Linked DNA regions of Homo sapiens: regions 1, 2, 4 and 5 are each linked to region 3. The links are contacts of gene promoters, found by promoter capture Hi-C in blood cells and fetal thymus (Javierre and others, 2016). All regions are on one chromosome and are shown on one strand. Each heading gives the region's core, a stretch centred on a gene start or on the middle of the fragment in contact. The rest is flanking DNA. Distances are from core to core; before and after follow the strand shown.

Region 1 (5,959 bases), core at 3,365-5,864, 310 kb before region 3:
TTGCTATCTTCTACCCATTTGAACAACTACTGTCCTCTCTATTCTGCATGCTGGCTAGGAGAGCCTAGGCAACAAACAGTCCACAGGTATGCCTATGGTTACTGCTATTTCAACAGAGTTCACTGGAGTAAGATGATGAGGGAGGAAGTTCATCTTTTTGAGGATTTACCCCCTGTTTACATTCAGTCTTTCCATGTTGAACTAGAAATTCAAAGAGGAGGCATCATGTCTCCTTAAATATATATATCTTTCCCCTCTTTGGAGATCAGGATCTGTTTTAGACTGTGGGGAATTCAGTAGCCCCAACTCTGTTTTCAGGTGAGGTAACTGAAACCTCCCTGCTTCAGCAGTGCGATTCCCACTACCTGTTTACAAGAGAACTGAATATCCCCTCCCCTAGGGATCCTCTGCTGGAACTCCGATTACCCCATAAGTTGCTGTTAAATCAGTGAATGGCATTCATTAGGCACATATCATGTGACAAGCAGTGTATCATATTCCTCTAATTCTTCAAAAACAACTTTATGAGAGAGGTACTAACGTCATCTATTTAACCATGAGGAAGTCAAAGCACACAGAAGTTAAGTCATTTGTCCAAGGTTACATGGCTAATATGCAGTGAGGCAGGGATTCAAACCCAGGCAGTTGGCTTCTTATGGAGAACTGGGCAAGGGATCTTAGTACTAAATCAGCTAACCTCATCTAGTGGAAATGTCATTCTCAGAGTTCTTCAGGCTGCAGACACCAGGCTTCTGTAACTAGCTCTAGGTCAGTTTGGAAAGGTGCATGGTAAACACCAATAATTTAGGAATATAAGGCAGCTTAAGATTTTAATTCATTCATTCTTCAATAAATATTTATTGAACCCCTGAAACGTGCTAGGTTTCACTCCATGGCCTGGGGATTCAACTATGGGCAAGAGAGCATGGTCCCTTACCTGAAAGTTTACTGTTTCTAGGGAAGACAAGGAATTAAGTAAAATTTGATGAGTAATATACTGAGAAAAATTCAAGGTACTATACAAGTGTATTATAGAAGACATTCGTATTTTGGGGGTGGAGGTGGGGAGTTTGTCGGGGAGTGCTTTTTTTTTTTTTTTTTTTTTTTTTTAGGCAGAGTCTCACTCTGTTACCCAGGCTGGAGTGCAGTGGTGCAATCTTGGCTCACTGCAGCCTCCATCTACTGGGTTCAAGCGATTCTCTTGCCTCAGCCTCTCAAGTAGCTGGGATTACAAGTGCGCACCACCATGCCTAGTTAATTTTTGTATTTTTAGTAGAGATGGGGTTTCACCATGTTGGCCAGGCTGGTCTCGAACTCCTGACCCCAAGTCATCTGCCCGCTTCAGCCTCCCAAACTGCTGGGATTACAGGCATAAGCCACCACGCCAGGCCATCAGGGAGTACTTCTAAGAGGAAGTAACATTTGAGTTCTCTGATATGTTGCAGTTAGCCAGACAAAGATCCTGACTGGAAAGATTCTGACTGGAAAGAAGAGGTATGGGTGTTTGTGTAGTTCTAGAGCGGGGAAAACCTAGTTTGTTGAAGAACTGGAATGAATTGCAAAACCCCCTGAAGTAAAAGATACCTGAAGAGGTGGGCAGAAGTGGAGTCATGAAGAGCTCTGTGACCTTCTAAGCCAACTTAAAGTCAAGTATTTTGTTTATGGATTTAATTTTTTTTACAGTTATAATCACAATGTCCCCAGTAAAGAAACCATAATATAGCTCATGTTGTTTTTGTTCTTAATTAGCTTGTTAACTTCATGGTACATTGACCACTTAAAAATGAGATTTATTCTTCTCATTAACTTTAAAATGTTTGGAAATGAATTGCTTAATATCAGAAAACATTTCTTATGCTTTTTGAGAGAGGAAAATAGGTGAGCGTCTATTTATTATCTGGTGATGTCTATGTGCTGGAGTCTTGGTTCTCCCTATTTCATGATTCCTGATAAAAGACTTATGCCTCCGTTCTTGTAGCCCATTCAGAGACCAGGTTTAGGCGTGAGTGCCACCAAACAAATTAGAGTTTTTGCCAGAGTATGGAATTCCAAGTCTTATTTTCAGGCCCCTAGGCATCTGTGCCAATTGTGTGAGTTGCACTAACGACTAGTAAGTGAGTGGTCATTGCTCTGCTAAATCTTGGATATACAAATTTAGGGGGTCTCAACACATGAACAGGATGGGGAACAGGCAGAGAGGCAAAGCTGTGTTTGTGAGGAACCAAGAGAGGCAAGGCTTGATTCCTGAGTTGTTTGGATATATGCTGTCCAGAAAGTGGGGTGAATATAGTACCCCATCCTGAGGAGATTGGAGCTCTGTGCAGCCAAGAGAAATGGCCCCATAACAGGTAGCCAGAAGCTCAGGGCTCTCTATTCACAGCCAGAATAGAGGCTGTCACAATCCTGGGGAAATTTGTTGATTTCTTTATTCATTCATCCAATAAATATGCCATAGAGACAGGGCAGTAAAACACACAATGACAACAACAAAACAGACAGAAAACTCTGCCTTCATGAAACTTATACTCTAGTGATGCAGATAGAATCCAGTAATATGTAGTGAAAAAAAAAATTCATGACCACACTGGGTTTACTCCAAGAATGCAATTTTGTATTTTGGTCTTATGTGAAAAAATCAGTCAAAGAATGAAAGAGAATAATTACATGTCACTTCAATAGTTGCACAAAAAAAATTAGTAAAATTCAATACCCAAGCATGATTTGAAAAAACAAACACTCTTAGCAAACTCGAACTATAAGGGAATTTTCTTAACCTAATTAAGGATATTTACAAAAGAACCTTTGATGAATATCATGCTTAATAGTAAAATGTTGAAAGCTTTCTTTTTAGGATTTATAACAAGACAAGCATTGTCTTTTATTACTACTTTTATTCAATGTGCAAAATTGAAGGACACCGAAGGCCCTGGCCAGTGCAGTATGAAAGAAAAATAAATAAATGACAAAGTTATTGGAAATAAAGAAATAAAACATCATTATTCACAAATATGATTATATCTGTGGAAAACTGTGTGAAAATAAATAAAATTTAAAAGCTCTTGGAACCCTGAAAATATTTTAGGCTTTGAGAGATATGTGACTGTGATCTGAATCACATGTAGTTACAACCTCTATTCTCAGATTATAGATTAACCTGCTTTCTTGTTTTTCTTGTTCTGTGCAATGACTAGAGAGAATTAAACAATGCCAAAGACAAAACCTCCTGCCTTCTTCATTAATGACCCTTGTTATAGATTAACTTCCCCATTTTTGTCTTGATTTGCTAGATAAGATGACAGAAAACTCATGACTATTACTCCCTCTGGAAAAAAAAAAAAGAAAGAAAGAAAAAAAAAAGTTAAATGTACCCTTCCCAGAATAAACACAGCCTATAACCAATCAAATTGCTGTAACTATGCACCAACCTTATATGGAAAAATGTTGTAATCCTCCTAAAAACTCCCTGTCTCTGCCTACATAAATGAAACCTTAAGTTCCTTACTTCGGCATACTTACTCTAGTCCTCTGCAGTTGGTGTTTCCAGGTAGGCTATCTTCAAATGTTGCTCTTGAATCAACTATCCTTAAATTAGATTCTTAACATTTTATTATTTTAGGCTGACAGTTGAAAAGAACCTACAGCCAAATCAAAAGAATTCATAAGTGAGTTTAGCAAAGTTACTAGAAACAATATTTAAAAATTTATTTGAATTTTTCTATACAAGCAATAAAAAAAACAAAAAGATGTTATTTATAACAGCTTCAAAAATATCAAATAACTAAAAATAAGTCTAGCAAAAGATATGCAAGGCCACCATGCCAAAAACTATAAGACACTATTAAGATAAAAAAAATAAGACCTAAATACTCTAACTGATAGAAAAGACTAATTCATGGATTGCAGAAATCAAATTGTAAAGGATAATTCTTCCCAGATGGATCTAGATATCCAATGTAAACACCTTTGATTATTTTTTTTTAAATGAAACTTGACAAGTGAGTCTACATTTAACTAGAAATTCCAAGGGTCAATAGCTAAGAAATGTTTTACACGAGTAACAGTGGATTCTGATTATCAAGACTATAATGCTTCGGTAGTAATACATTGGCACAAGTTAAGAGATTGGATGAGGATTATAAGGATAGACAAGTTAACCAATGAAATAGAAAGAGAGCCAAAAACAGACTTAACCACACATGGGTGCTTGATTTATGAGAAAGGTGGTATCATAGACCAGTGGGGAGAAAGGGATCTTGTTGATAAATAATATTGGGACAATTGAATATCCATATTAAGAAAAAATTTGACCCCTGCCTGACACAATAAATAGATATTAATTTTAAATTTTTAGGCATAAATATGAAAGAAAAAAGCAAAAAATATTAAGATGATACAGTAGGAGAATAGTTTCATGATTTTAGAGTAAGAAAAGAATTAAAATAGGACATAAGAAACGCTAACTATAAAGGAACCAAGCCACATACGTACATTGAAATTATTAACTTCTGTTTGCCAAAAGACACCTTTAAAAACGAAAAGGGAAGAGCAGAGTGGAAGAAAATATTTACAACACAAACAAAAGTTAAAAGTCTCTTACCTCAAATATATAAATAACTTCTACAAATTAATAAGAAAAGATTAACAATTCAGTAGAACAATGAGTCAGAGCAAATCACAAGAGGCTATTCAAATGGCCAATAAATCCTATGATGTTAAAATTCCTCAGAAACAATCAAAAAGTGAAAAACAAACTGGACCCAGAAGAGCAGAAGCCTGTGGTTGAAAGGAAAACAGAGCAGGGAGAAGGAAGATCAGGACAGTATTGAGAGGGTATACCAGCACTGGGTTAAAACAATCTGGGTGACGTTCAGTAAAGCTCCATTATTTTTAACTGGGATTTTTGGGGCCAGCCACTGAAGTGGGAAGGTTTATCCCTTTCCTGTGGGTCTTTGGATTTTCATTAAATCTTTCCCTATTCCCTTAAACAAATTTTGCCCTTCTGTCATCTAGTCCACTTCCTCTCTGTTGGTGGCTAAATGGGATCATCCTGGAGGAAACTTAAGGCTATTTCATTTCCCATTTTAAGTGCCTTTTGGGGCTGAACAGAGATCTGCAGTTGATTTGTTAGCTGGCAGAAGTGTGGACAGTGAAAATTGCAAATTGATTTTTTCTTGAAGGGTCAGCTATTGGCTCACATTTTCAGGTAATCAGTTATGATGCTATCAAATAAAGCCACTTGCAATAGTGGCCATCTAATAATAACAAATGTAGATTACCCCACACATTATTTAACTCTCTAAAACACTAGCTTGTGGCTGCAGGTACAAAACTCCAGTGAGAAAATCTTGCAAAAACATTTGGTGCAAAATCAATGATAAAATCTTTCACAGCATTTTAAGAGTAACTGTAAGAAGAAAGCAATTGTAGTTATTCATTTAATCGTTTTTCTAAATAGAGTCTACACATGAGCTGAACTCTTCATTTGGAATGAAATAATCCTTTTGAAAATTTTACTCTGCATTAGATTTTATCCCAAGTGGCCCAAGAAGCACTATCTAATATGACTAACAACCACACATCTATAACTAGTACAACTCCAACTATAACTTTGTAGGACCTATTGAAGTGGTTGACTTATGCTTATTAAAATATTAAATAAGAATGAAACCAGTCATTCTTTGGAAGATTCCAAATAATGTTGTAGAAACTTCTATTCATTTATATATTCCAAGATATCTTCCATAAAGTGGATAAGATTTTTAAAAAGATGTAAAAGGACCAATTTTGAGTGTGGCCCAACCAGACTCAATTCTGGAAATCAATTCTTACACATTATCAATTATTCATATTAATATATCATTATATATATATAACTTTTTACACTGATTTATTTATTTTATTTGACACTATAAAATAAAGCAACCTAAAATAAAGTCAGTATTGCCTTGGAGAAATATTC
Region 2 (5,557 bases), core at 1,671-4,170, 300 kb before region 3:
ATTCCTCTCCTCTGAAAAAAAAAGAGCTGTTCCTCCTCCCTTCCCATGTACTCACTGCCTTCCTTCCTGCTGTGTCACGCCTTTGCTCCACTCTTTGTGCCCTGTCTCAGCTAGATCTTCATTCTGTCCTCTACTGGTTTCTCCACCCTGGCCTTTAGATATGCCCAAACTTGAACTTCACAGCTCTGTCTTTATTCTGCATCCTTCTGCATAGTCAAGGCTCTATTTTTTGTTTACCATCTTCCCATCCAAACTTCTTGAAAGGGAAGCCTGCAGTTTCTTATTTTTCATGCATTCCTCAGCTCCCCACTGCCATTTGTCTCCCTCCTCCACTTAACGATTTATGCCAAGGTAATCTGTTCCTAGATCTAGTGGACATTTCTAGGCTTTCTCTCTCTTGATCTCTGAAGTATCTGGCCCTACTGGACACTGTCTCTCCTTCTCTTCATTTGGCTTTAGTGATACTATCTTCTCCTCTGGATTTGCTCTCATCTCTTTGGTCCCTCCTTTTCTGGCTCCTGCTCTTCCAACTGCTTAAACATTGCTGTCTCCACTGTTCCATCCTCTTCTGTTCTCTTGCCACATATTCTCTGATTTATTTCATACACTCCCATGTCTTGAATTCCTAACTAAATGCTTATGGCCAGAATCTAAATCTCTGGCTCAGCTGTATCTTCTGAGCTCCAGGCATCTTCATCCATCTTTGTACTAATCTTTCTTCTTTGATGCCCTACAGGCTGCTTAAACTCAACATGACCAAAACAAAACAAAACAAACTTTCTTCTCCTTCAAACATCTTAGAGAATTGCATCCTTTTCTGCACCACCTAAGCCATAAGTTATAAAGTCAGCCTCCATGCTCTCTTCTACCCTCCTCCATCTAATCTACTCACCGATCTGATCAATCCTAGGGTCTAAATAACTCTCAAATATATCCCCCTCTCCATCTCCATCACTACTTCTCAATTAGGCCTGCATAATTTCTTCCCAATTAGTCTTATAATGCCCTAACTCGTCTGCCTCTTCCTCTTTACTGCAGTCAGAAAGCTCTTATTAAATTACAAATCTACTCATACCACTCCAGCTGCTAAAATCTGTTCAAAGAAAAATTAGACAAATTTAATTTAATAGAGTCTAATTGAGCAAAGAATAATTCACAAATCAAATAGCCTCCTGAAACGGAATAGGCTGAAAGAGTCTCCAGCACTGCCTTGTGATAGAAAAAGAAAAAGGAAAGTGCTGTACAGAAACAGAAGTGAGGTACGGAAATGGCTGGATTGGTTACAGCTTGGCATTTCCCTTATTTGAATATAATTTGAAGAGTTGGCCACATTTGATTAGCCAAAACTTGGAGATTGGCACAATTGTAGGTTACAGCCTGTTTACACATTCGGTTAGGTTACAGCTCACTAGGTAGGAGAAACCTTTAGGCTGAAGTTAAAATACGCAAGGAGGGAGCTTTAGATGAAGCTTAATTTAACAAACCCTTCACAGGCCAACCACATAGCTTTCAGAACAAGGTGGAAATGATGGGCATGGCACATTTCATACTGAGATCTGCCTGCTTTCCAGGCTTCCCCTCTGCACAGCCCCTGCCTCTACCCATCTTCAACTGTGGTCTGGCAAAAGCAAACTATTTTCAATTTCCTGAATGCACTTCATTCTCTCCAGTTTCTTAGCCTTTAACCATACTATTCTCTCAGACTGGACTGATATCCCCATCTTCCCATGCCACTTCACTTTACAAACTGTTTCTTCAGGGCTTACCCTGGGATACTATATCCTTAGGAAGTCTTCCCTAGACATTCAGCACCACCACCCTTCTTTGTTCTCCTACAGCACCTTGTGCATACTTTATTAGTGCACTTATGTGATTCTGAAATGATTTGTCTCATTTCAATCAATTATGAAGTCCTAAAAGCTGTGCCTCTTCAATATCTCCAAAATCCTGCCTTCTCTTGAACCTGGTTTTCCTGCTTTCATTTCTGTCCCCCGCCCATTTCAAAATTAGCAACAGAGGGGTCTGTTTCAAATGCAAATCGAATGTCCCTTCCTTGCTTCAAACGGATCCTTTAAGGAGGGTTGAAATCAGAACCAGTAGATATTTGGAAAATGTTACTTTAACATGTGAATACGTGAATGAGGTCAAAAATGGCTTCATGGAAGTCAAATTTCTGTCAGGTCTTTTAGGATTAATAAACTATCAGTCAATGGAAAATGCTAGGGAGTACATTCTTTAAGGATTTGGAACAGGAATTCAAAGAAATTAAAGAGTGTGTAAGCAGAAACTCAGTTGTATGTAAGAAAACCCAGTTCCCCCTGAGAAAGAGAAAAAGATGAAGTCCTTTAAAAACTATACTGCCTATTTTTCTGTGGCTAGTGAGCCTTATCTCTCCTCCCTTCCCAGGCATTGTGAAGACCCTGTTTCTCTAGCTGTGCAGCTGCGAGGTCACTAGACAGATAAACTCAAGTTGCAAAACATGTTTTTCCTTGAAAAGTAAGAAATGATGTAATGACTGTCTCAATTGAATAACTGCCATTGTTTCTCACTTCTGTAGTATGCTTCCCCCTGCACAGATCTCCACCCCCCCACACACACCCCCGCCCCACAAAATGCTTAAAAAGTAAACTAACTCTTTGTTCAGGGCTTAGTCCTTTGGATGTTAATCCGACTGGGCCAGTGCACCTAAATAATTAATACATATCCTCCTGAACCCCATCAATCTCTCTGATTCCTTAACAATCCTGCTACATTTTCTTTAAGGAATCTGAGTAGGCTAGATTAGAATGGGTTGCTTAGATGGAAGAATTATGGGACATAACACTGGAAATGTTGCCCGAAGCTGCAAGGAGAATTTTGAATGCAATACTGAAGAGTTGCACCACTACAAGTGCTTTATGCAAGACAAAATTTAGTTCTGCATCTAATTTCCCTACTTAAAACTAACACAGCTTAAGAACGTTAAATAGGAAATGAATGTTTATTAGGTGGCAGGTCATATTCAGGGTCTCAAAAGACACTCTATGTCAGAGCAATGTCAGAAGAATACAGGAGAGCTGTTGGGAGGGACCTGAGGGGCCAGAGAGATATAAATTTAAGAGCTACAATTTGAATGTCTTGATGTGAAAATAACTAAGAGGGGGAGGAGCCAAGATGGCCGAATAGGAACAGCTCCGGTCTACAGCTCGCAGCGTGAGCGACACAGAAGACCAGTGATTTCTGCATTTCCAACTGAGGTACCAGGTTCATCTCACTGGGAAGTGCCACACAGTAGGTGCAGGAGAGTGGGTGCAGCACACTGTGCATGAGCCAAAGCAGGGCGAGGCATCACCTCACCCAGGAAGCGCAAGGGGTCAGGGAATTCCCTTTCCTAGTCAAAGAAAGGGCTGACAGACAGCACCTGGAAAATTGGGTCACTCCCACCCTAATAATACGCTTTTCCAACGGGCTTAAAAAACGGCACACCAGGAGATTATATCCCGCACCTGGCTCAGAGGGTCCCACGCCCACGGAGTCTCTCTCATTGCTAGCACAGCAGTCCAAGATCAAACTGCAAGGTGGCAGCAAGGCTGGAGGAGGGGCGCCCGCCATTGCCGAGTTAGTTGTTTGATTAGGTAAACAAAGCGGCCGGGAAGCTCGAACTGGGTGGAGCCCACCACAGCTCAAGGAGGCCTGCCTGCCTCTGTAGGCTCCACCTCTGGGGGCAGGGCACAGACAAATGAAAAGACTGCAGTAAACTCTGCAGACTTAAATGTCCCTCTCTGACAGCTTTGAAGAGAGTATTGGTTCTCCCAGCACGCAGCTTCAGATCTGAGAACAGGCAGACTGCCTCCTCAAGTGGGTCCCTGACCCCAGAGTAGCCTAACAGGGAGGCACCCCCCAGTAGGGGCGGACTGACACCTCACACAGCCAGGTACTCCTCTGAGACAAAACTTCCAGAGGAACGATCAGGCAGCAGCATTTGCGGTTCACCAATATCCGTTGTTCTGCAGCCACCGCTGCTGATACCCAGGCAAACAGGGTCTGGAGTGGACCTCTAGCAAACTCCAACAGACCTGCAGCTGAGGGTCCTGTCTGTTAGAAGGAAAACTAACAAACAGAAAGGTCATCCACACCAAAAACCCATCTGTACTTCACCATCATCAAAGACCAAAGGTAGATAAAACCACAAAGATGGGAAAAAAACAGAGCAGAAAAACTGGAAACTCTAAAAATCAGAGCACCTCTCCTCCTCCAAAGCAACGCAGCTCCTCACCAGCAACGGAATAAAGCTGGACGGAGAATGACTTTGACGAATTGAGAGAAGAAGGCTTCAGACGATCAAACTACACTGAACTACAGGAGGAAATTGGAACCAATGGCAAAGAAGTTAAAAGCTTTGAAAAAAAATTAGATGAATGGATAACTAGAATAACCAATGCAGAGAAGTCCTTAAAGGACCTGATGGACCTGAAAACCAAGGTACGAGAGCTACGTGATGAAAGCAGGAGCCTCAGTAGCCGATGCAATCAACTGGAAGAAAGGGTATCAGTGATGGAAGATGAAATGAATGAAATTAAATGAGAAGTTTAGAGAAGAAAGAATAAAAAGAAATGAACAAAGCCTCCAAGAAATATGGGACTATGTGAAAAGACCAAATCTATGTCTGATTGGTGTACCTGAAAATGACGGGGAGAATGCAACCAAGTTGGAAAACACTCTGCAGGATATTATCCAGGAGAACTTCCCCAATCTAGCAAGGCAGGCCAACATTCACATTCAGGAAATACAGAGAACGCCACAAAGGTACTCCTTGAGAAGAGCAACTCCAAGACACATAATTGTCAGATTCACCAAAGTTGAAATGAAGGAAAAAATGTTAAGGGCAGCCAGAGAGAAAGGTCAGGTTACCCACAAAGGGAAGCCCATCAGACTAACAGCTGATCTCTCGGCAGAAACTCTACAAACCAGAAGAGAGTGGGGGCCAATATTCAACATGCTTAAAGAAAAGAATTTTCAATCCAGAATTTCATATCCAGCCAAACTAAGCTTCATAAGTGAAGGAGAAATAAAATACTTTACAGACAAGCAAATGCTGAGAGATTTTGTCACCACCAGGCCTGCCCTAAAAGAGCTCCTGAAGGAAGCACTAAACATGGAAAGGAACAACCGGTACCAGTCACTGCAAAAACATGCCAAATTGTAAAGATGATCAAGGCTAGGAAGAAACTGCATCAACTAATGAGCAAAATCACCAGCTAACATCATAATGACAGGATCAAATTCACACATAACAATATTAACTTTAAATGTAAATGGGCTAAATGCTCCAATTAAAAGACACAGACTGGCAAATTCGATAAAGAGTCAAGACCCATCAGTGTGCTGTATTCAGGAAACCCATCTCACATGTAGAGACACACATAGGCTCAAAATAAAGGGATGGAGGAAGATCTACCAAGCAAGTGGAAAACAAAAAAAGGCAGGGGTTGCAATCCTAGTCTCAGATAAAACAGACTTTAAATCAACAAAGATCAAAAGAGACAAAGAAGGCCATTACATAATGGTAAAGGGATCA
Region 3 (5,937 bases), core at 1,697-4,196:
GGCAGTGATGCTTAGAAAAGCCCTCACCTGATGGCAGGCTGAAAGATCTGAATTGCAGTCCCAGTTCCGCAACCCGTCAGCTATGCAACCCCAGACACAGCAATCTGCACCATTCTGAGTCCTAAGTGTCTTCAGCAAATTAAATGAGATATCTGTGATCCTTCCAGATTTATAGCCTTTTCCATCAGGGAAGTGAAGTATATGCATGAACTTTAAAGGAATAGGGGGCTATATGCCAGCCTAAAATATCCATTCTGATTTGGGACAGGTTTCTCAGACATTTATTCTCAAGATATCCCACATTGGCTCTTTTCTCAGCTGCTAAGATCTGACCCTTGCAATAATCAGGTTTCCAGAGGTATGGAACACAACAAATTAGTAGGCCCTAGAGGGCTACTAATGGCTGTCTCCCACCTATGTAAATACACATAAATAATCACTCAGTCATCCATTCTAGAATCTTGCTAGTGTTTGCATTATACTGACTGGTGGAGCATCTCAAATCTGAAACTTGAAATGCTCCAGTGAGTATTTCTTGTCAGCGTTCAAAAGTTTCAGATTTTGGAGCATTTTGGATTTTGGATTTTTAGATTTGGGATGCTCAGCATGTATAAGAAATAAATTTTTGTTTTTGTTTTTTAATAAATTACCTAGTCTCAGGTATTCTGTTATAGAGCAGAAGCCAGGCTAAGACTGTGTTCATAATAGTGGCTCATCATTTGTTTGGCAATATATTTGTTATTAAAATATTTCACTGTGACAATACTCACTGTGATAAATTTTATTCTACAAACAACTTTCTTTAGGGTATTTTTTTACAATCTGAGGATTATACAAAACCACCTGATAAAAATAGGCGCAATAATTCTTGGGCTTTTAGTTTCAAAGTCTGTTTTCCCATCTGTTATCCAAAGTCTGGGTCGGTCTACACAACCAAAGCAAAATGTAGGATTCTGTAATTATCCTTTGACTCAGAGACAAATAGAATATCAGTAGAAAAGGGACATCTGTGCTCATCTGATTCAATACCAGTCAGAAATATGATTCTTTGAAACATCTAACAACCATAGAGGACAATCTGCTTTATTGAACCCATGAATTCAAATTCTAATCTCATCTGGAAACACCCTCACAGACACACCCCAAAGTAATGTTTAGCTAAATACCTGGCATCCGGATCCAGTCAAGTTGACACAAACAATTAACCATCAAATCCCACATCTCTAAGGCCTTCATGGCACCTAATACAAAGTAGGTGCTCAGTAAATGTTTTCTTATTGAGTGGATGAATGAATGTATTTTTATTATTTCCAGTGAAATCGTAAAGATGACTATGGATGAAGAACTACAAAGTTAGTAAAAAGTAACTGACAGACCGCTCTTAGCCTGCTAGCCTGCTGACAGATTGTACTGCTTAGGTTGATTGACAGTTACTCTCAGAGTATTAACTGTATAACTGAGAGTAACTCAAAGTAGTAACATGTCTACATATGGGGAAGACTTCACTTGAGTCTCACTGATCCTCAAAGCAGACACTCAAAATAAATGTGCTGTGAGTTTAGTTTAGATCCAGTCCAGATGCTATTTGAAGAAAGAAGGGAAAGGAAAGGAAAAGAAAGAAAGAGGGAAGGAAGGAAGGAAGGAAGGAAGAAAGGAAGGAGGGAAAGAAGGAAGGAAGGAAGTGAAGTAAGTTCAAAGTTACTTGTTTAAAAAATAAATACAAAGAAAATATTCTTTTCTGGCTGCCAATCTGTTAAAAAATTAAAAAGTAATATATAGTTTGGGGTTGTAATTATCAGGCTATTGTAATTTGCCCTAATTTTTGTACAGTTTTATTTATTTCAAATGTCCAATTTTAAGGAGAAGATAATAGACTTCAAATTATGGATAGAGAGATTGTAATAGAAATCTCTTCAGATACTAAGAAACCTGGTTTCATTTCATTCTCTTTGACATTTCATTCTCTTTGATCTTTAATATCCTTATCATTGGTCCTAAAATCCACTAGCTCTTTTTGGGTTACATGAACATTATTAACTTCAGATATTCTACAAGTCATGCATGTTGACTTGGGGTTCTGGTTTTGGCTATTATCTTATGCAGACTGGTGCCGTCTACCAGCAGCTTGGTACACACATTTTTTTCCTCACCAAAGATGGATTAAAGAAATAAAGTAGCAGAAGTTTTGTGAATAGTGGGTTTGACAGTAATGCATATACCAAGATATATGCTGGTAAAATGTATCCATCCAGCAGCCTTAATTTTTACATATAAAGTTGTCCCTTGGTATTCACGGGGGATTGGTTCCAGGACCCCCTGTGGGTACCAAAATCTGCAGATACTCAAATCCCTGATATAAGATGGTGTAGTGTTTGCATACAACCTATGCACATCCCCCATATACTTTAAATCATATCTAGATTACTTATAATGCCTAATATAATGTAAATGCTATGTAAATAGTTGTTGCATTGTGTTGGTTTTTTATTTGTTTTTTTGTTGTTGTTGTCATTTTAATTTTTTTCAGACATTTTTGGTCTATGGTTGGTTGTATTTGCAGATGCAGAATCCTCATATACAGAGGGCCAGCTGTAACTCATATGTTTTCAAGAGGATCTTCTCAATATAACAATGTGTAGCTTATGGCCAGGCACAGTGGCACACGCCTGTAATCCCAGCACTTTGAGATGCCAAGGCTGGCAGATCTCTTGAGCTCAGGAGTTTGAGACCAGCCTGCAAAACACAGTGAAACCCTGCCTCTATAAAAAATACAAAAATTAGGTGGGCATGGTAGTCTGTGAATGTAGTTCCAGCTACTTGGGAGGTTGAGGTGGAAGGATCACTTGACCCCAGGAGGTCAAGGCTGCAGTGAGTCATGAGTGTGCCACTGCACTCCAGCCTGTGCGACAGAGTGAGACTCCGTCTCAAGAAAAGAAAAGAAAAAGGAAACTGCAACGATGAACAGATCAGAATAGGCGACATGCACTGAACAAGGTAAAAAAGACAGAAAATTATCTGGAGAGGTGGCCGGAGGACACATCAAGAAGCGCCTTGTACATTGGTAAGGATTGTGGATTTTATGGTGATTAAAAGTTGCTGTGGGGTTTTTTGAGTACAGGAATGACTTAACCGGTATAATGTTTGTAAAAGGATCCATTTGGCTGCTGTGCAGAGAAATAGACAGGACAAAGTAAGTGGAGAAGCCAGGATACATACAGGAAGCTATGGTCATTGTCCTGGTGAAAGCAATCCACAACTTGGGCCTGGTAGGGACAAAGGTGAAAAGTTGCTAATTCTACATGTATTCTTTGATGGATTGGGCATGGAGAGGGAGAGAAAGGGAGTGGTCAATAAGATTCCAAAGTTTTGGGCCCAAGCAATTGAGTAAAACCGTGGTGACTTTTACTGAAATAGGAAAAACTGAGGTGGGTCAGTCTGGGGCAGGGGGAAATATGAAATTCCATTTGAGAGCTGTTAAGTTTGAGATATCTATTATATAATCAAGTGGGTATGTCAAGTAGGCATTTGTTGGTTTTTATAATTGTATTAGTCAGGGTTCTCTAGAGGGACAGAACTAATGGGATAATATATGATATATACATATATATGATATATATATATATATATCAATTGTACCCCAAACCTCAGCATCACATAATATACTCATGTAACAAACCCACACATGTATCCCTGAATCTAAAATAAAAGATGAAATTATAAAAAAAGTTATATTGAAGCGTGAAATATTGATTACAATTTTGAAGCATAAAATATATCGATTATTATCATGGTTATTACTGAGTATCAACTTGATTGGATTGAAGGATGCAAAGCACTGATCCTGCGTGAGTCTGTGAGGGTGTTGCCAAAGGAGATTAACATTTGAGTCATATATATATATATAGATATAGATATATAGATATAGATATAGATATAGTTTAGTAAGTATTAACTCACACAATCACAAGGTCCCACAATAGGCCATCTGCAGGCTGAGGAGCAAGGAAAGCCAGTCTGAGTCCCAAAGCTGAAGAACATGGAGTCTGATGTTTGAGGGCAGGAAGGGTCCAGCATGAGAGAAAGATGTAGGCTGGGAGGCTAGGCCAGTCTAGTCTTTTCATGTTTTTTTGTTGTTTTTTTTTTTTTCTGCCTGCTTTATATTATAGCCATGCTGGCAGCTGATTAGATGGTGCCCACCCAGATTAAGGGTGGGTCTGCCTTTCCCAACCCACTGACTCAAGTGTTAATCTTCTTTGGCAACACCCTCACAGACACCTGCAGGATCAGTGCTTTGCATCCTTCAATCCAATCAAGTTGACACTCAGTATTAACCATGATAATAATAAATATATTCTGTGCTTCAAAATAGTTGTAATCAATATTTGACACTTCAATATAACTTTTTTTTATAATTTCATCTTTTATTTTAGATTCGGGGATACATGTCTGGGTTTGTTACGTGGGTATATTATGTGATGCTGAGGTTTGGGGTACAAATGATCCCATCACCCAGGTATTGTTCACAGTACCCAATAGTTATTCAACCCTTGCTCCCCTTCTTCCTTCCTCCCTCTAGTAGTCCCCACTGTCTACCATTGCCATCTTTATGTCCATGAATATCCAATGTTTAGCTCCCACTTATAAGTGAGAACATGCGGTATTTGGCTTTCTGTTCCTGTGTTAATTTGCTTAGGGTAATGGCCTCCAGCTGTGTCCATGTTCCTGCAAAGAACATGATTTTGGTCTTTTTTCTGGCTGCATCAAGTAGGCATTTGGATATGAAGTCTGGTGTTCAGGAGAGTTTGGGGCTGGAGACAGAAATTTGTAAGTTATCAATATCTAAACTAGTGCTAACCAGTAGACATACGAGGCAAGTTACATATGTTTTCTAATAGCTATATGTTAAAAAGTGGAAAAAATAGGTAACATTAATTTTAGTAATGTTTTATTCAACTTAATACATCCAAAATCTCATTTTATTGTATAGTCAATATGAAAATATTATTGTGTTGTTTTACATTCTTTTTTTTATAAGTCTTTGAACTTCAGTATGAATTTTACATGTGTACCACATCTTGATTCAGACTTAATAGCCATGTGGCTAGTGGCTACTGTGTTGGACAGCACAGGTCTGGATGGTGTTTAAAGCCAATGGACTGGATATTGAGAGACAGTATAGATAGAAAAGAGAAGAAGCCCAAGAGACCCGAGGACTGAGCCCTTGGAAACTGCAGCATTTAAAAGTCAGGAAAAAGAAGAGGAGGATCCCCAATAGAAGAGAAAAAGAATAGAAATGCTGTCTTGTTAGGGGAGCAGGATATGGGTGTATGCATTTATCAAAACTGATTGAACTGCACACTTAAAATTTATGCATTTCACAATATGTAAATTATGACTCAATTTTAAAAAGCACATTCTAAAAATAGAAGAGAGAGAGAGAGAGAGAGAATCAAATGGAGAAAACAGTGAGGATGGTGTGGGGTTCCAGAAACAAGTGATCAACTACGTCAAATGCTGGTAAGAAGTCAAGTGAGATAAGGACAGAATTAACCAGAGAATGGGCAATGGAAGGTCATATGTCACCGTGGCAAAAGAAGATTTGAGAGAGGGGATGAAAGCTTGATTAGAAGTTCATTCGAGTGAGAATGGGGAAGCTTCTGGTCACAGATGGCTGATCTAACATGTGATTTTACTTCTGCTTCCCCTGAAACCTGACTAAATGACAGTAAATGGAATTTGTAATGACTTACTCACACCCCTGCCCCACTCTAACATGTACAGTTTGGAAACTGGAAAGCATCTAGGGAAGGATAAATGACTGAGATCTATGAAAGCTGAATTCCTAGTCAGCACTGGGGAAAGCAAGGAGCAATTTGTCACCATAGAACCCGCCAAAGGCTCAGAAATCTGTAATACAGGTTCAACCAAAAGTGAGGG
Region 4 (5,633 bases), core at 251-2,750, 260 kb before region 3:
CTACGTCTGTGCTTCAGTGTTCCAGCCCCATGGAAAACCCATTTCTGTACAGTATCATATCCCATAGTTAATCATACTTTTAGATTTTTTAGGAATATTTTAGTGTCATTGCTATTTAGAGATTATCTGTATCTTATATTACACATTAGCTAAACATGCTCTGATAATATAAATGTTATTTGAGCTAATTAGATAAACTTTGATTTCAATAATTGTTCATCTTTAAAACTGATGCAGCTTTATTTTAGGACTAAAGGATTATTTATCTTCTTTATATATAATACACATTATATATTATATATTATATATGGATAGATATAATAGTAATGTAATGTGTACAGCTGTTCACATAAATTAATTCACCTATATTTAGCTTCCCCTGTATCCTGTCCTCTTAAGCACATTGAGGGCAGAGGCAGTTTTCTTGTATCTTGTCACTCTACAGCACCTAACACAATACCTTTCATAAACATAATCTGGGCTTAGCAAGTCTGTGGATTGGATTCACTTGCAAAATCTATCCATTGCTTTAAGAGAAACCAATATTTAAAAGTAGACTTTTCGTTAAAAGGATATTACAGATATTACTTGCTTTGTTTAATAATTATCTGCTTTGGAGATGTGTTTGCATTTTTAATGAGTGCTTTAATGAGCTTCTATTACATATATTAGAAAACAAACTTGGAATAGTGCCACTATGTAAGTTAACTCTGCTGGTTTAAAATATATTTGAGATGGAATTTGATTAAATAATTACCAAAAGTAGATATGTAAGACTGTATAAGATTGCTTTAGTAGCAAGATCAGGCAGCAATATTGATTTTTTAAATTAAGTACTAAATATACCCAGTCGAATTCAAACACTTACTAAATGATATTTTGCAATTTTCAAAAAGCCCTAACATTTAGCCCCTCAGTTGATTCCCTTAATAACTTGATAAATTAGGCAAAAAAGCAAAGAAGAAGAGGATCATGGAGAGCAAGGGATTTACCCACATTTACATTTATATTGGCAGAGTCAGGACTTGAACTGAAGTCTCCTGAGGCCTAATTTGATCTTCTATCTGTATCAACCAGAAATACCTAAAATAACTCATATGTCTATAAAGATAAATGTACCTGTAGAAAATACATCCCTCAAAACACACATTTAATTACAACTTCTTAAACGAGCACCCTCTTCCTTTTTCTTACAGCTCTTTATCCCTAGAGTTTAAAGAATCAAAACACACATAAACATCTCCCTAGAGCAAACATAGGGAGTTTCCTCATGACTGGAAGCCCACATTAAAGCCACGCCTAAGGGAAGAAGGGAAGGCAGGGCTGATAATATTTTGTTTATTTTAGTCCTTCTGCTTAGTTTTTGTTTGCAGGCACTGGACTGAACTTAGTTTTCAGAGCCAGAAATTATCATTGTTTGTGTATCTAAATTTGTTAATACTCTGCTTTTAGAAATTTTTATGTACAATGGATTCCAAGAGTATTTTGGGAACTTCTCAGTGGTGAAATCTAAACTGTGGTTCAGTGAAGAGCCGACAAACACAAACTGCAAAGAGCAGTTGGCACAGTACACTTTTGGAGGCTATACGACTCTTCTGCTCTTCTAGCACAAGGCACGGAGTAGGTGCTTGCTACAGTTTTCGGATGAATGAATGAAAAGTACCTTAGTCCCCAGCACTGTCTCCTCAGTTCACCCAAAGATTCCCTGTGATGGCCGTGCCACCATTACAGCAGCAGTTTATTTTCTGTGCAATTTGTAGAAGAAGAACCAGAAACCAAATTGTTACCCATGCTCCAAATTGTTATCCATGCTCCAAAGACTATTCTTGGTTTTATGCCATAGCAAATAAGGTCTTACCATTTCCAAGTAAGGCTAGCCACATGCCAGTCTGTGAAAAGGAGGCATTTGCTTTTGGGTAGTAGTTGACATGCTTTGGGGCATTTATGCTGCCTCCCCAGCTCCCATCTCAGAGAATTCCTGCTATTCACAGTCGCTGCTGGAAAGGACAGGCTTAAGTGGCCCTATCCCCACTCCATGTCTGCCTTGCCCCACTCCAATGAGACCAGGGGTAGACTCGTGGACCACAACAATCAGACTCTCTCTTACGATTCTGAGCCGGGTTACAGAAACTACGGTCAGTGACTATGGACTGCAGCTGAGAGCTCCCAACCAGCGAGGGCTGAGGTTGGTGCCAGTGCAAGCCAAAGTCAAGGACAACTAAAGCTACTTAAGAGCAAGATTATAAATAGACAAAGCCAAAGTCTATGAACAAAGGAAATCAGACATGCTTTTAAAAAGCAAAGAGTATGCAACACTCACAGGGAATTAATAACAATATTATTTATTAATTTATTTATTTTATTTATGTTTTGAGATGGAGTCTGTCGCCCAGGCTGGAGTGCAGTGGCACAATCTGGGCTCACTGCAAGCTCCGCCTTCCGGGTTCACCCCATTCTCCTGCCTCAGCATCCCGAGTAGCTGGGACTACAGGCGCCCGCCACCACGCCCGGCTAATTTTTTCTATTTTTAGTAGAGATGGGGTTTCATTGTGTAAGCCAGGATGGTCTTGATCTCCTGACCTCGTGATCCGCCCGCCTCCGCCTCCCAAAGTGCTGGGATTACAGGCGTGAGCCACCGCGCCTGGCCATAATATTTTTTTAAAAGCAAAGAGACTCAAAAGAGAGAGTCAAAAAACAAAAGAGAGAAAGAAAGAGTGGGAGACTACAGACCAATCAACTTGAGTTTCAGTCTCTCTCTTTCCCAGCTTTGGTGGCTATGAAGTCTAGCTGGACTTTGTTTCCTGCTGGTGGATGTGTGCAAAATTGTTGGCTTAATCTTTACAGTTAACTCCTGTTTTTAATTTGAGTTAATTTGAGTGAGATTCGATTCCCAGCCACCACTCATCTCTGACCAATGGACTTCCCCGTCCCCTTCTCCCCTGCGAACCAGGTGCTTCAGTTTGGCCCTTCTCGCTCCTATCAAGAAAGAATGGGATCTGAAAAACTTTCACACTGTCAAATACTGAGTTTGCTGACTTTTCCAGTAACATTTTAGAAGAGCACAGCAGTGAGAAGGCCACATGAGACAGTAAGGGATAACAATTCACATACCATTTTGGGCATCAGTTGTAATCTATTTCAGGAGGAGCACCGGAACACCGGCTATTACCTCAGTAGCAGATCACTTACTATCCCCTTTTTGAGGGCTACTTACCATCACACATAAAGCTTTTCCTTCCTGCCACACTCCGCACACCACATACTACATAAGCTCTTCTGTCCATTGTAAATGCCTTGAAAGCGGGGATCGTCTCCACTGTGGTTTTATACTCACTGCTCTCACACTAGCAGTGACAACATCCATTTGAATGAATACATGTTCTACATATAATTTTAATGGATATTCCTTCTCCCTCTCTCAGAATGAATAGTTTGAGAACTTCTGGGCCTAATATTCAGATAAGACCCCCTCAAAAACCTTCCTTTTCCCTTTTGCCACTCCCTCTGCACTACCATGCGCCCTTGTACTTCTGTGAGATCTCCTAAAACTGAAGAGCATGAGGAAAACAGGAAATTACTATTAGCTTTTCCTTAGTCCAGGAAAAAAAGACTGAGAGGTGGCCCAGTCATATTCATAAAGTGTTGCTTAAAGAAGCCACTATTAGCAATTGAAAAGGACTTTCTAGTTCAGCCCTGCCTCCCATTCCATCTGGGCACCTCCAGCATCAGCCCACAGTTTCTCAGGCTCCAATCCATTCCATGCCAGTCATAAAGCTGACTTTCCAATGAAGACACAAGGCAGAGAGCACATTTGCATCAATGCAGGTACAGGTGTATAAACTCAGTGACTCCAAGCGGCTACACTGAGCAATGTTTACATACTTGGAAAAAGGACCATTCTCACAGATTCTATTTAAGACCAATGTGGAAATATTAATAGAAATTCTTGAATCTAGAACTATTCATAAATACTGTTTTAGAAGAATGTATTTTCATTCAGAAAGGAACACAGTTTCTGACAGACTGTGATTACCGTTTTATTTCCTTTTTCTATATCATTAAACGCAAGGGTAGTATTCAGAACACTCAAAAGTCATATATGGAAAGAAAAGAAAATGATGTTTTTGGCATGCTTGGATCTCTATCATATTATGTTCTTGTCTTTTCTGGTACAATTGTAGGATTTATTTTCTAAACATTCCAATTTTACAGCATGAGTCATTGCTAATGTAGAAACCAACTGAATCATCCATCCATCCATCAATGAATATTCTTGTCTTCTTTTTCCTTATATGTGCTTATCTTTATACTAAAAAAGATATTAGGAATTCTTGCATTTAAAGCACTTCTTCTCCCTTTCACTTATTTTGTTTGTTTTACAGGTAATACAGTAAAGCTATCATTAACTTTGTTTTGGTTCAGATTTCCATTCAAAATATTGAGTCAGAAACTCAAATCAAGTGTACTCTTAAGTATCTGAAATCTGATGTCTTCCATACAGGAGGTAAATATAAAGTCTAGAAAAAGGAGAATAGAAAAGAAATATTTTCACACTTTCTGGCCTTAAGAAAGACCAAACAGACTGGATTGTGGTAATAAGTCTATGTCTTCTTCACTTAGCCTTTAAGAGTTGACTAAAAGTTATTTGATTGGCCAGGCATGGTGGCTTATGGTTGTCATCCCAGCACTTTAGGAGGCCGAGGGGGGCAGATCATCTGAGATCAGGAGTTCGAGACCAGCCTGGCCAGTATGGTGAAACACTGTGTCTATTAAAAATAAAAAAAATTAGCCGGGCATGGTGATGCATGCCTTATAGTCCCAGCTACTCAGGAGGTCGAGGCAGGAGAATCACTTGAACCCGGGAGGTGGAGGTTGCAGTGAGCCGAGATCGTGCCTCTGCACTCCAGCCTGGGCGACAGAGTGAGGTCCATCTCAAAAAAAGAAAAAAAAAAGTTATTTGATCATCTTGTTTCAAATATGAAGAATCTAGTTTATTCCATTCCATCTTAAATATATCACCTAGGATACTTGATATTGTAATATAATTACTTGTTAGGCACATCTTTTATTATTATTATCTATACCAGATGGTTTCAAGGAGAAGACATATTTACTTGGAACCAACCTATGGTTTGAGGTGGGGCTGGGGAGTGGGCAAGAGCACTGGTCCAGGAGTCAAGAGAACTAAATGTTAGTCACTGTGATACCACCAGTGAGTGAAGCTGTCACTTACTGGGCTTTCTTGTTCGTTCGTTTCTTTTTCAGTAAAATGAATTTCCTTCAGTGCCTGAAATCTCTTTCTAAGACTCAATGACTGAGCCTTTTCCTATTGTTTATCTCTTGCCCCAAAACTTGTAACACAAAGTCTCCCCAATTTTTATGCACTTAACAATCCACTGTTCAGTAGCCATTCTACATTACATGCAATTATCATCATGAGCCCCCTTTCCCATTCTGACTATATGGAGATTATATGGGGAAAACTATAATATGGATCACAGGGAAAAAACTGAATTAAAAGGAAGATTTGGTCCGGGCACGGTGGCTCACACCTGTAATCCCAGCACTTTGGGAGGCTGAGACGGCCGGATCAGTTGAGATTGGGAGCTCGAGGCCAGCCTGATTAACAGGGA
Region 5 (5,962 bases), core at 1,604-4,103, 330 kb before region 3:
GCCACCTGCACCCGGGTCTTCTGACAAAAGGAGGGGGCAGAAATGGGAGACGGGGAAGTTAGGATAGCATCTACGGACAGGGGCTTCTCTTGTCCTGATTTAAGACGATCAGGCAGTGGTGTGTCTTCAAATAAAAACAAAGACAAGTCTCACTCTGTGAACTGTTTGTCTCTCTAGAACACTGGATCTCAACCAGGGGTGATTTGTTCTCTATGGGATACTTGGCAATGCCTGGAGATATTTTGAGTTGTCGTGATTTGAGAAGATTGGGAGTTGCTACTGTCATCCAGTTGGTAGAGACCAAGGATGCTGCTAAAACTCCTACAGCACATAAGACAGTTCCATCACAACAATAATATAATATTAGTTTGGTACATTACTTCTAATGGCGAAAACCACAATTATCTTTGCACCAACCTAATAATAATAATGGAAAACATTTTCTAAAAGTTAATTTGTAAATTGGTTATATATAATATTGTTGTCAAGCAGATCTTAAAGCAATGGTTCATGTCACTTAACTGCACAAAAGATTTAATCACACACACACGCACACATGTGCATGCATGCATGCACACACCCAGCTTATGAACTAAAGTTCAACTTTCTAAGCTTGACATTCAATATGACTCTTGATCTGGAGCCTACCCTGTTTATCAATTTAATCTTTCTCTATGATCTCCTTATGTAACCCAAAGCCTGTGTCTATGCTACTATCAGACTTAAATATTTTAGACTGCCATATGGCTATCTCCCATATTTTCCCTATCAATTTTTGGCATACTCAACCCCATTCCTGATAGTGAATTAAGTCTTCAGCTGGACCTTCTAATGTAAAATGTTCAAATTCAGAAACTAACTACACTTAAAACAGAATTACCCACTAGAATACATCAAGGCTGTACCACTAAGATAATAATAACTAGCTCTTGGGATTGGAAGGATAAGACAACGATACCATGTATAAATCACTGTGAAGATGTTACCATTATGATGTCCCTACCTCATAATAGCACTCAATGAAATGTCTGTGTCTCTCCTATAATTAAAAAGGCATTCCAAGTAGGAAAATAGCTTTTGCAAATAAATTAAAGTAAGGCTATTTACAGTAAAATAATAATAATAATAATAATAATAATAATAATAATAATAATAATAATGTAGCACAATAGAAGCTTATTTCTCACTCACATAAAATCCAAAACAGATGTTCCTGCTTGGTGGCAGGAGTGGAAGGTCGGCTGTGTGGATGAAGGAAGACTGCTTCATAGCTTCACGCAGAGCCGTAGGCTGGAAGTCTCCATCACCTTCCACATGTGGCTTCCATGATCATCCTGTGTGTCAACATCCAGTGGGCAGATGGGAAAAGAGAAAGCACAGGGTATGTGCCACCACTTCTTAACCACTTGGCCAAGACATGGTACACATCATCTCAGCTCATATTCCACCGGCAAGAACTAGTCCCACCTGGATGCAAGGGAGGGTAGGACTGGAAAATGAGGGCCCTGGCTGGGCAGAGCTTCTCAGCAACAACGCTACACTATGGAAAGGACATTAGCTATCTTTACCACAGCAAAGCACAAGGGTATAGGAGATGAAGCAAAGACAGAGAGCAGTGGGCAGGCTTGCCTGGCTAGAATATGAATTGGAGCTTCGTGGCAGATGAGAACGGTTAGGTAAGGAAAGACAGCCAGATAACAGGAGACTCATGACTCTATCATTATGAATGTTTTCTATTTGAGAGACAGCTGTGAATCCGACCTTGAAGAAGAGTTATTTGATAAATAATGATGTTTAAAACAGACACTGTAGCCACAAAGTAATTTTTGTTTCATTACGAAATGAATCTGGTTTTTATTCAGGCATATCTTCCTTATGTGGAAATTCATAACTTTAAAAACGAATCATTGCATCACTAAGAACTCTTTTCACAGCATTCTCTTACCCCTTCCAAGTACCCTTTTCAATCAATGTGCTTTCTCCTTCCTTCAATTGCTTCTATGGGCTTGCAGAATCTGCTGCTGTGTTTGTTCCTTTGCTGTTCTCCTTTAATTGCTGTCTCTGCTGTGTCTGGTTCTCCTCCTTTCTTTTGGCCCAGACTATTTATTTCTAAAACCCATCAGCATTCTGTGAGGGTTAGGATTCATTTCAGAGAAACTCAAGGGAATTACCTCTGGGTGATTTTTCAGCCCAGGTATTTGGGGCAGTTAAAATGTCATTTATTTCTCTAGACTTGCATGATGTTGTGCAAAACATGAAATTAATCTTAACTACACAACATTCAACTCTTGACATTTCAAGACCTTTATTAAAATGTTGAAATAGAATTTTCCTTTAAATATGTTAATAGAAGAGACTTGTTGCTTTCCCTATGTGATAACTTTCTTCAACTCCCACATCATCTTTCATTACCCAGAGAAACACACCTTTGATTTTATAACGGAAGTCAATGGAAAAAAAACTTGCTATATAGAAATACACATTTACAGTAAAGTTTTTTATGCTGATATTCACTCAGTAATAGAATGTATACCCATATAATCTATTGTTCTAGCTTTCCATAGATGTCAAAAATGTTGTCAGCCTGATGCTAGAATATCACTGCTATTAGTGTGCCATCTAGTGGCTGATGTTGTGATATTTTCCATTCTTTGTTGAGGTAGAAGAGGCTTTAAGTGACATATGGAAAGTCCAGTGAGATTCCTTCTTTGATACAATGCAGGGATGACACAGTTGTATAAAGCCAATGGCCAAATGTTGAGTCATCTGATGATGTGTAGAGGATCGTTTGTAAGTTCTTACTTAGCCAATATAATTAAGAAATGAAGCTATTACAAGAACAATTAAATATATTTGTTAGCTCGCTGTATCATGATGCACAAACCATATGTGCATTAACCATATACCAAGAACCAGAATACAATAAAATGCATTTGACCCTAAATTTAAATTAGATTTAATTTTACTCTTGTTATTCAGATGGTACTTTAGGATCTTATAGGTCTAGGCTTTGAATACTAATTCTCATTGTGTAGTATACAAAAATGTATGTTTGAGCTTTCTGGTTGCTTGGATTTAAAACTAAAAGTGGTTTTGTATTTATAAAGGATCAAACCTATCATGCATAGTGTGAGTGGCAGCATATCCACCATTTTAGTTGATTCTTTGTAGTATTATAACCATAATCGCATGATCTTATATATTGCTTTATTCCAATATTAAAGATTGAGAGATAATGATAATGATTTTATCTTTTAGTTATAGAATTGCCTTCAAATGCCTTGTTTTATAATCATCTCAAAGTCAAACAAGAGATTCCTTTAATCGTTACATCATTTTTCATAGGCAAGTAATGAGGGACTGAATGGTTTTGCTGTTGAAGACAGAAGGACAAAAAAGTAAAATCATATTCTCCAAACATATACAGATAGTATTGAAAAGAAGTGTAAGAATTAGTTATTGTTTGTTTGCCCTTGGAAATAACAGTTATTATTCTGTTATTATTTTTAAACATCTATTTTATTTATTATTATTAAAGGAGCAGTTATCACTAATGCAATCATTTCAGAAAAATTTTCTTTAAAGCAAACACAGGAAAACAGAAACAAAAACCACCTCCATTTAATTGAGTTCTTAGTATGTGCCACGTGATTTAAATACTTTACATACTTTTCTTACTTAGTCCTCACACAACCTGATAAAGTTTCATTTTATAAAGGAAGAAACCAGGCTGAGTCATTGAATAACTTATTTTAAGCCACATTGACAGTAAAGGGCAGCTTCTGGATAAAACCTAAGTGTGTCCAATTTTGAAGCCGTGCTTATAAATGTGACAAAAAATACTTTATAACCATGTCAGGAAAACATGCATTGTACCTACTACTCTACAAAGTCTAGCCAAGAGCAGAACTGACATGCATTGTCTTATTTGCCATAGGTAAATCAACAGGAAAGCGAAGTATAAACAGTTAACTCAGACTAGTATATTACCCAGGGTTTTATACTGGTTGATCTGCCATTATTCCAGAGGCAAGACTACAAATCACTTGGATAACATGATCCTGCAATGTCAAGGTAGGTAAATAACTTGTGAGAGTTTTTAAATGATGCCATCACCACTGCAGAAGAGTATATTTACTCCTTCTGCTTTCCTTAAAATGGCTAGCATTAGGCTCTTTATTCAGAAATTTTTATATTATAACATACCTTATCTTATATCATTATCTTCTCCCAACAATCTATTAGGCCAACGTGCTAGATCAGTGATGTTACTTTAAGGCCCTCTCAATCTTTTTTAAAAGTTGTAAACAGACCACTGTGCCACGTAAAGATTAAAGTGTAAAGACTGAGACTTCAAGAATAAATTTTAATGCTGTGATCATATAATATATAAATTTTGCCAAACTACTTTTTGAGCTGCATGCTAATTAAATACAATGCTTAACAACCACTGATACACACACACACACACACACACACACACACACACACACACATAGAACTACTTTTACATAGCTAAACCAAGAAATGGGAAAGCTTGTTACTTTGTTTCTAGATTCCTGGATTCATAATTCAAGGGCATTGTGATAGATCTCCTTTGTTGTTCTTCCTATATCCACCCCTCCCTCCCCAAGCCAATGGAACCTTAAGTTCGTTCAGGTGGCTGCTGAGATCTTTCCCTCTGTCGAGTATTTATGGATGGGTTTAAACCAATCGTGATTCATCCCAGGGCCAGGGATAAATTATGATTGGTCTAAACCAGCCTTAGTAATCTTAGTAATCTTGTAACTTTGTCTGGGAATGAAGTGACAAATTTTGGTCAATGAGATGAAAGCAGAAGTTTTTGAATGAGCCTCCAGGGCTTGTCTTTCTGATTAACACAGATAACATAGAAAAGAACTTTTGTCTTTCTGATTAACATTGATAAACTTACAGAAGACAGCCTTTGCCTTTCTCTTCTCTTCTGCCTGCAATGAAGACATAGTCCCTGGAGGCACAGCAGACATTTGTGACCATAAGATGACAAGCCTGAGGACAAAAGTCAACTTTTATTTTTTGAGACGGAGTCTCATCCTGTGGCCCAGGCTGGAATACAGTGGCATGATCTCGGCTCACTGCAACCACATCCCCGGTTCAAGGGATTCTCATGTCTTAGCTTCCCTAGTAGCTGGGACTACAGGCATGCACCACCATGCCCAGCTAATTTTTGTAATTTTAATAGAGACGGGGTATCACCATGTTGGCCAGGCTGATCTCGAACTCCTGACCTCAGGCGATCTGCCCACCTGCACTTCCCAAAGTGCCAGGATTACAGGCGTGAGCCATCTCACCTGGACAAAAGTCAATTTTCTAAGGATGATGCAACAGGATGATAGGTCTCTGACAGCATCGCTGAGTTCATTGAATAGCTGTATCAGGACGTTTCTTACCTTTGGATTCCTTGCAATGTGACAAAAAGTTTTATTTATATAAGCTATTGTTTGTAGGGGTTTCTGTTACTTGCAGCCTCATGTATTAGGTTGAACCATATGATATGTTGTAAACAAAAATAGTTGAAGCTTAGCAGATTTCTATGATTCAACCAATTTTATGAATTGATGCTGAATTCAAGACCCTTTCACTTCTCCAGCAATCAAAACCTCTCCTTTTCCTCTCTCCTGCCACCTGATACCACACAAAATAGATCTTTATATATATATATTTCTGACATTTAATCAATGATGTGCTGGTAAACTAGTTTGTTAGGAGGAAAAGCCCTGATTTGTACTGTATTTATGGTATAACTACTCCCACTATGTCTCATTTTAAGCTTCCAGCTTGAGGTCACTGAAAAAGGAGTTGGAAAGAAATGCTCGCAATCAGCTCTTCTGAGCTGCTACTACAGCCAGCTCCAGCATGCCACTGCCCACGCATTGGCCAAAGCTCTGTTACAGTGTATGATGGTCAGAGCTAATGTTAGAAA

What was found. The method cuts DNA at HindIII sites, captures the fragments that hold promoters and counts their contacts. A CHiCAGO score of 5 or more calls a contact.
Region 1: a contact is called between a fragment that was not itself captured here and the fragment with the promoter of LINC02416 in region 3, in 13 of 17 cell types (activated CD4 T cells, naive B cells, non-activated CD4 T cells and 10 more). The highest score is 13.9, in activated CD4 T cells.
Region 2: a fragment that was not itself captured here is called in contact with the fragment with the promoter of LINC02416 in region 3 in 1 of 17 cell types (activated CD4 T cells); the score reaches 5.7 in activated CD4 T cells.
Region 4: a contact is called between a fragment that was not itself captured here and the fragment with the promoter of LINC02416 in region 3, in 2 of 17 cell types (activated CD4 T cells and non-activated CD4 T cells). The highest score is 6.1, in activated CD4 T cells.
Region 5: a contact is called between a fragment that was not itself captured here and the fragment with the promoter of LINC02416 in region 3, in 1 of 17 cell types (activated CD4 T cells). The highest score is 5.5, in activated CD4 T cells.

The regions. Positions count from the first base shown.
Region 1 is chr12:47,035,173-47,041,131 of GRCh38, forward strand. No RefSeq gene overlaps it. Among named protein-coding and RNA genes, the nearest start is that of PCED1B, 41 kb to the right of the region's middle. The HindIII fragment of the contact is 3,555 bases long and covers 2,838-5,959 here.
Region 2 is chr12:47,053,581-47,059,137 of GRCh38, forward strand. No RefSeq gene overlaps it. Among named protein-coding and RNA genes, the nearest start is that of PCED1B, 23 kb to the right of the region's middle. The HindIII fragment of the contact is 2,907 bases long and covers 1,468-4,374 here.
Region 3 is chr12:47,350,822-47,356,758 of GRCh38, forward strand. LINC02416 (long intergenic non-protein coding RNA 2416) reads left to right here and starts at 2,947. Exons shown (of 4, transcript NR_183615.1): 1 at 2,947-3,061. The HindIII fragment of the contact is 14,565 bases long and covers 1-5,616 here.
Region 4 is chr12:47,096,135-47,101,767 of GRCh38, forward strand. The region is part of intron 1 of PCED1B (PC-esterase domain containing 1B); the gene reads left to right. Among named protein-coding and RNA genes, the nearest start is that of AMIGO2, 19 kb to the left of the region's middle. The HindIII fragment of the contact is 3,452 bases long and covers 1-3,226 here.
Region 5 is chr12:47,018,795-47,024,756 of GRCh38, forward strand. No RefSeq gene overlaps it. Among named protein-coding and RNA genes, the nearest start is that of PCED1B, 58 kb to the right of the region's middle. The HindIII fragment of the contact is 3,361 bases long and covers 1,174-4,534 here.